Linked DNA regions of Homo sapiens: region 2 is linked to region 1. Evidence: promoter capture Hi-C in 16 types of primary human blood cells and fetal thymus (Javierre and others, 2016). All regions are on one chromosome and are shown on one strand. Each heading gives the region's core, a stretch centred on a gene start or on the middle of the fragment in contact. The rest is flanking DNA. Distances are from core to core; before and after follow the strand shown.

Region 1 (3,246 bases), core at 346-2,845:
GTAGCTGGGTGTGGTGGCACTCACTGGTAGTCCCAGCTACTGGTAAGACTGAGGAGGGAAGATTGCTTGAGACCAGGTCAAGGCTTCAGTGATCACATCCCTGCACTCCAGCCTAGGCGACAGAGTAAAGCCTTGTCTCAAAAAAAAAAAAAAAAAAAAAAGAGAAAAGATTAAGGGCAACCATGATAGATCTTTGTTTTACCACATGAGGGTTTTACATGAGATTGCATCTGCTGTGAATTTCTGAGCACGTGGCATTCCTTAAGTAATCTGGCCTTGACACTTAATTTGCTTTATAAACTTAATTCTCCATAAATAACTGAATCATCAATTCTTGATTACATGAGCAATTGAACAAGAATTATTCCAAACAGGAAATAATCTAACAGTTATTCTGATTTGGTCAGGATTCCTGCTGCCATAGATATTTGGTGCCTCTAGTATTTAGGCTCTTCACAATTCCCTCAAATAAGTAGAATTCTCTAATATTGAGTTAACTTCACATCAGAACTCCATAGTGAACTTGGTCCTGCTGCTTCTTCTGGTGGGAACAAGGACCGCCTCCCAGCGAATAGATGCAAAACATCAGCCCAAATTTGCCTGTTCCCCTCAAACCTTCCCTGGGAGCTGGCCAGAAGGTACCAAAGTTTCTTGCTTTCAAAGGCCTTCTCTTCCAGCTCCAACTCCAGGAGCTATACAAGGTGCAGAATCGAAAAGCGTCATCTGTCTTCAGACAGCTTCAGTAAATATATTTCTCCTTAACAACCTTTCACCTAAGCATCTGGAAATTCAATATCATGTTTCAGGAGGTTAAAGAGGAGAAAGTTCAAATACTCAAGCTCCAATATTCACTTACTCTCAGGGAAGATCTTTGCTTGGAATCCTTTGCCAAAGACAAGATTCTCCAGATTATTGAAGGCCTGGTTGAGGGAGTTAAGGAGTAGGGTGTGCAACGGGGACAGAGCTGTGTGGGGAAGGGGAAGGGCACATGCCTACGTGGCCCGCCCCCTCCAACTGCAGGGAGGATACAGTGAGCGAGAACACGAAGAGACCCGAACCAAGCAGGCCGCCCTGGATGGTGAGCCACTCGGTGGAGGCCAGCTGACGGCTGTACATCTGCATCCCAGCAAAGAGCAGCAGGGACAGGAGGGAGGAGAGCGCCAGCGAGGTGCCCGTACCCACCACTGGAGGGGATGGGAGAAGGGACGGAGAGTCAGGCTCCGCCCTCCCTCCGGCAAGCTACGGGCAGATCAGCCGGTCCGGAAGCTCGGTGGGCCGACCCCCTCCAAGAACTCCCGGGACTGCAGCCACACGCCCCAACTCCCCACACCGCGCGGCAACCCCTACGTATTCCCCAGCCCCGGACACCCCGAACCCTCCCGTCCGGTGGAAATGCCCGCTCCCGGTGGAACCCAGGACACGTCAGCTCTGTCGGGAGAGGACGAGGAAAGCTTGTCCACCCAAACCCCGACCCCCTCTAGGACTTCCTGGGGACCCCACCGGTCCTGTTACCCATCATGCCCCGCCCGTGAGTCCAACCGGCGCCTCTGGCCAAGAAAGGCGAGCTGAACCGGGTGCGGTTAGCTATGCGCATGCGTCAGCGCTTACCGCGGACTTGCTACTCCTCGCGTTCTCCTCTTTCTTCCTCTCAGTGCCTGGACGCAGCGCCCTCTTGCGACAGGGAGGAAATAATGCGTCGAGGGGGCATCCTCGGCCACCGCCCTGGTCCTCAGGCTTTCCTCGTACCTGGTGCGTCTGCTGCCACTCTGTACAAGGTGCACTTATCTCTTTAAGTCATTGGGCCCATGCCTGTGGCATCTATCCCATCTCTGTCTTCTTTGCCATTTCTTTCATCTCTAGTGCACGTTCCTCAAACCTCCCTGCCCCATGCCTCAACATCTCCCAACCTAAAATTTAGTGCTCCCAACCAGGAACTCATTTTCCTCCGAAACTAATCCCCCGCTTTATATGAGTAAAATTAGGAGCCAATGAAAAATGAGAATGTAAGAAATGGCTCCCCCGTCAAATACCTTTCCATATTCCCCAACCCCCCGACCGGCTTTCGAGAACCACGTGGGGAGAACTATTTCCCACCCCCTACCCCGACGGGCGCTGTTCGAGGCTGGTCCCGGGAGCATGCGCAGTGACACCTCAACCCCCAGCCCTCCTCACACCCCCACTGGGCTCCTGCATTAAGCCCGGGGTTCGCAGCCGCAGCCGGGATCGGGCACCCAGGGGCGGGCGGGCACGGTAGGGCCATGGCAGAGGGTGAGGATATGCAGACCTTCACTTCCATCATGGACGCACTGGTCCGCATCAGTGTGAGTTAAGGTGGGGTCGAGGGAAGGGGAGGGGGCGTATAGGGTTCTGGGGCAAGCTGGGACCTGGAACAGGTGGGGATCCAGGAAGATGCTGGGATGTAGACAGGGGGCTAGCGATGGCAGAAACGGCTGGGAGGGTCGGGATGCAGGTATGAGAGGGTAATCCCGGGAGCAGCCCGGAGGTGAGTGCCGTGAAGGCGTCGGTGTGCTGGAGCGTGAGGAGGAGCTAGGAGCAGCCCAGACGCAGCGGGTGGGCTGGGGTGGCCTCCAGCAGTGCACCGGGGCTGGGGCTTCAGGGGAAAGGCCCTGTTATGAGAAGAGGGACGTGTGAGCTTGGATATTTTCCAAGAAAACTGAGGACAGGTGGGGGATGATGTAGGAGCCGCCCCACAGTGCAGTTCCCAATTTGGACCCCTCCCCAAGACCCCACCCCACGCACCCCCACTCAGGGCTGCTTCCGAGCCTGCGGTTGTCATGGCAACCCGTGCCTGGCTCTCCCAGGGGCGGTGCCAACCGTGTTCCCCCCCACCACTTCCTCCCCCCCTCCTTGTTCCTCCCTCCTTTGTGTCAGCTGCGCCCCTGACCGGGATGGCTGCGAAGAGAGGGACCAAGGTGAGGTGTGGGGGTGGGGCATAGCCTGAGGACCCCCACTCTCGCCACCAAGAGGGGGAGGGGACTTCCGGTGGGGAGGGGGCGAGTAGGCGGGGCTCTTGATTCCCCCGCTAGTTCGGAGAAGGGGGTGCCGCTGACCGGGTTGCGCTGCGGGAGAGGGCGGGAGGGCCTGATGGGGGCGAAGGGGAATGGGTTGGTAAGACCGATGGGGAAGTGAAGGATGGGGAATGGAGGCTGGAGTGGCCGCAGGCCGGAGCTGCGGCAGGAGGACGTATGGAGCGAGCAGGATGGAGTGCCAACCTCGCCTGGCTAT
Region 2 (3,246 bases), core at 418-2,917, 480 kb after region 1:
TAGCTAATGCCGATTTTAGAGGTTGATTAGCCCTTTCTACTTTCCCAGAGGATTGAGGTCTCCATGCTGAATGTAAATAGTATTAGATTCTGAGAGCCTTAGCAACCCTTTTAGTTATTTGGGAGACGAAAGACATACTGCTCTCACCTTGGAGGCTTTGGGGTAACCCAAACTGGGGATTATTTATCTTAGGAGAACTTTTATAACTTCATTAGCCTTCTTTGTTCTGCTAGGGTAAGCCAGTAAATGTGTCTATTAGTACTAGCAAAAACTTGTATCCCCTACAAGCTGGCATATGGGTAAAATCCAATTGCCAGTCTTCCCCTGGGGAAGTGCCCCTTCTCCGGACTGGTTCTATTAGAGGAGGCATTTTGTTCCTGGGGTTGTTGAATGCTCACAGTGAACAGGTTTGACAGACCTGCTTAACCACGGAAGTTAAGTCAGGCCCAATGAAGAGCCTGTTTATCATGGCAAGAGTGGCATCTCCTCACATATGGAAAGAGTCATGCAGGATTTTTATAATTCTCCATTGGGCTGTTTGAGGGAGATACACTTTTGATACTATATACCACCAGGATCCTTGTTTGTGTCCATCTTCCTCCTTTACTTCGAATATCCCTGAATACATCACAGGGATATTCAGGTTCTATTGGGGAATCATAGAAAGGAAGCAGTGCTAGAATTTGTCGGGATTACACCCTGAGCAGTGCGGCTTTGGCTTATCAGCCTTTCTGTGCCCTTGTGTTACAGGGGTTAGGTTCTTTTGATGCCCCCTACAATGAATTATGGCTATGCTTTTGGCAAGTGTATTGCTTCCAACAGTTGAAGAATTTCAGACCCATGCTTTATGGTGGAAGATTTACTAGTTAGTAGTCCTCTTTCTCTTTCTTTTCAAATTGCAGCATGAGCATGAAACACGAGAAATGCATGTTTGGAATCTGTATAGATGTTAAGCTTTTTCCCTTTTCCTAATGTCAGAACTCGAGTAAGAGCAATGATCTCAGCTTTTTGTGCTGACATACCTGGGGGCAGGGGTTGGACCTCAATAATTGTATTGTAATTTACTGTTGTATATCTGGCCCAGTGTTCCCGTTTGATATAAAGCTGCTGAGGTCTGTGAACCAGTCATCCTCTGAATCTGGGAGAGGTCAACCTTTTAAATCAGGCTGGCTAACATATGTATGTGCAATAACTTGCTCGCAGGAATGATTAATTATTGGGCCTGTGGGCAGCAATCAAGCTGGATTCACAGTGTTACAGGTTTTAAGGGTCACATCTAGATTTTCCAGGAGCATAGCCTGGTATTTGGTTAACCTTTCCCCCATCATACAGTTGTGTCCTTTTATTTCTAGGATTGACTTGATGTGGGGTTAATACTTCCAGTGGCTGACCCAGGGTGATTTTAGCGGCTTCTTCCACTAAAATAGCAGTGTCTGCCATCGACGGCAAGCAGCTTGGCCACCGTGTCCAATTTCTTTGAGAAGTAGGCAGTTGGCACTCCCATGGCTATGCCTTTCCCTTCTGCTACATACAAGGGCTTAGTGAGGTCTAGGATGCTAAGAGCGGGAGGCTGGCTGAGAGCCTGTTTTAACTTGATAAAGCCTTCTCTCATTTCCAAAGTCCATTCAATTGGCTCATTTTCTGGCTCCCTTGTTGCTTTCATAAAGGGGTTTTGCTATGAGCCCAAAATTTGGTACCCATCTTCTGCAAAACCCAGCCATCCCCAGAAAACGACGAAGCTGTTGCTTGGTGTGGGAGGAGCTCCAAACCACATACGGCTTGCACTCATTCTGGGGATATTTGCTGGGCTCTGGGTGTTAAGATACACCTTAAATATTGAACCCGTTGGTGGGCAATCTGAGCCTTCCTTTTGGACACTTTATATCCCATCTGCAGAGAAATTTAAGGTTCTTATAGTATTTTAGTCACCCCCTGGGTTGGGCTACACACAAGAAGGTCATGTACATACTAGAGTACACTCCATTTTCCAATTTTAGATCCCTTAGATCCCCAAGGCTTGTGCAAAAAACAAACAAACATGGTTATCCTGAAAGCCCTGAGGGAGGGGCACTGTCCAAGTGTATTTCTGTTTTAGCCCTACCCAGTTTCCCAGTATACCATGCTAGTGCGTTGACCTATTTATTAATGTGGTCTGGGACATTGTCTGCATTACTATTAGCAATTTTGCTGGGTGGTGCCTAAATCGTAGCAGTGTCCCTATTTTAACTATAATATCCCCTCCCAACAAGGGGACTGGGCAGCTTGTTACTACTAGAAATTCTTGTTGGAAGATTTGTTTCTCAAATTGGCAAGTCAAAAGAGGAATAAAGAATCTTTTTTGTGGCTCTCCTTCCATTCCCATAACGCTTGTGGATGGGGAGGAAGCTTTTCCTACGTAAGTAGTAAGGGCAAAGTAATTTGTCCCTGTATCAAAAAGAAACCAAATTTGGGTGCCCAACATGTCCAGAGTTACCCAGGGCTCCTCAATAGTAATGAATGATGTTCCTGGGCAGGGGTGGTGAGGAAGGCCCTGGGCCCCATCAGTTTTCATCAATTTCTCCTTTTGCACTGTTAAGAGTTTTGACTGACCTCCTCTGTGTAACAGGGGGCAGTTAATTCTCCAGCACCAGGGGTTGTGACTGGTGCCTTTGTACTGCCAACAGGGTCCCAGTGGGGGCTTACTACAGTCCTTTGCCCAATTCCCATTTTTCTTGCATTTGAAGCAAGAGCCTTTGCTGGCATTATCCTTATGGCCCATTGGGATTCCCTTGGGCACTCTTTGGGCATTCAGGGCATCTCCAATGATGGCTATCGTAATTTTGGCTTGCTTCTTCTTTATTCCTTTTCCTTCCTCCAGGTCATGATTGTTATACACCATAAGGCAGTATCAAGAAGTTGATTTTGATTAGTCTGTGGCATCATCTATAGCTTTTGGAGCCTAATGGCTGGAGCGGATTGGCTAATGAAATGCTGTGCCATTAATATTTTGCCTCTGGAGAGGAAGCGTCCAGATTGGTATATTTCCTTTCCCCAGCCTACCATAAAAGATGGCTGGATTTTCCTCCTTGCATTAATATTTTGCCTTCTGGAGAGGAAGTGTCCAGATTGGCATATTTCCTTTCCCCAGCCTACCATAAAACATGGCTGGATTTTCCTCCTTGCCTTGTATAACCTCCCTGATCATAATTTGCTACCTTAAGATATTGTCTTTTTCATTCCTCCAAGGAGAGCCTCAAGAAATTTGGC

What was found. The method cuts DNA at HindIII sites, captures the fragments that hold promoters and counts their contacts. A CHiCAGO score of 5 or more calls a contact.
Region 2: a contact is called between a fragment that was not itself captured here and the fragment with the promoter of KRTCAP2 in region 1, in 1 of 17 cell types (endothelial precursors). The highest score is 5.3, in endothelial precursors.

The regions. Positions count from the first base shown.
Region 1 is chr1:155,171,709-155,174,954 of GRCh38, forward strand. KRTCAP2 (keratinocyte associated protein 2) reads right to left here and starts at 1,596. Exons shown (of 5, transcript NM_173852.4): 1 at 1,513-1,596; 2 at 1,030-1,184; 3 at 857-920. The coding sequence starts at 1,516. TRIM46 (tripartite motif containing 46) reads left to right here and starts at 2,141. Exons shown (of 10, transcript NM_025058.5): 1 at 2,141-2,321. The coding sequence starts at 2,259. RefSeq lists enhancers at 976-1,255, 1,359-1,867, 1,446-1,545, 1,746-1,795, 1,868-2,376 and silencers at 2,126-2,215, 2,385-2,679. The HindIII fragment of the contact is 8,946 bases long and covers 1,450-3,246 here.
Region 2 is chr1:155,653,914-155,657,159 of GRCh38, forward strand. No RefSeq gene overlaps it. Among named protein-coding and RNA genes, the nearest start is that of YY1AP1, 33 kb to the right of the region's middle. The HindIII fragment of the contact is 1,431 bases long and covers 953-2,383 here.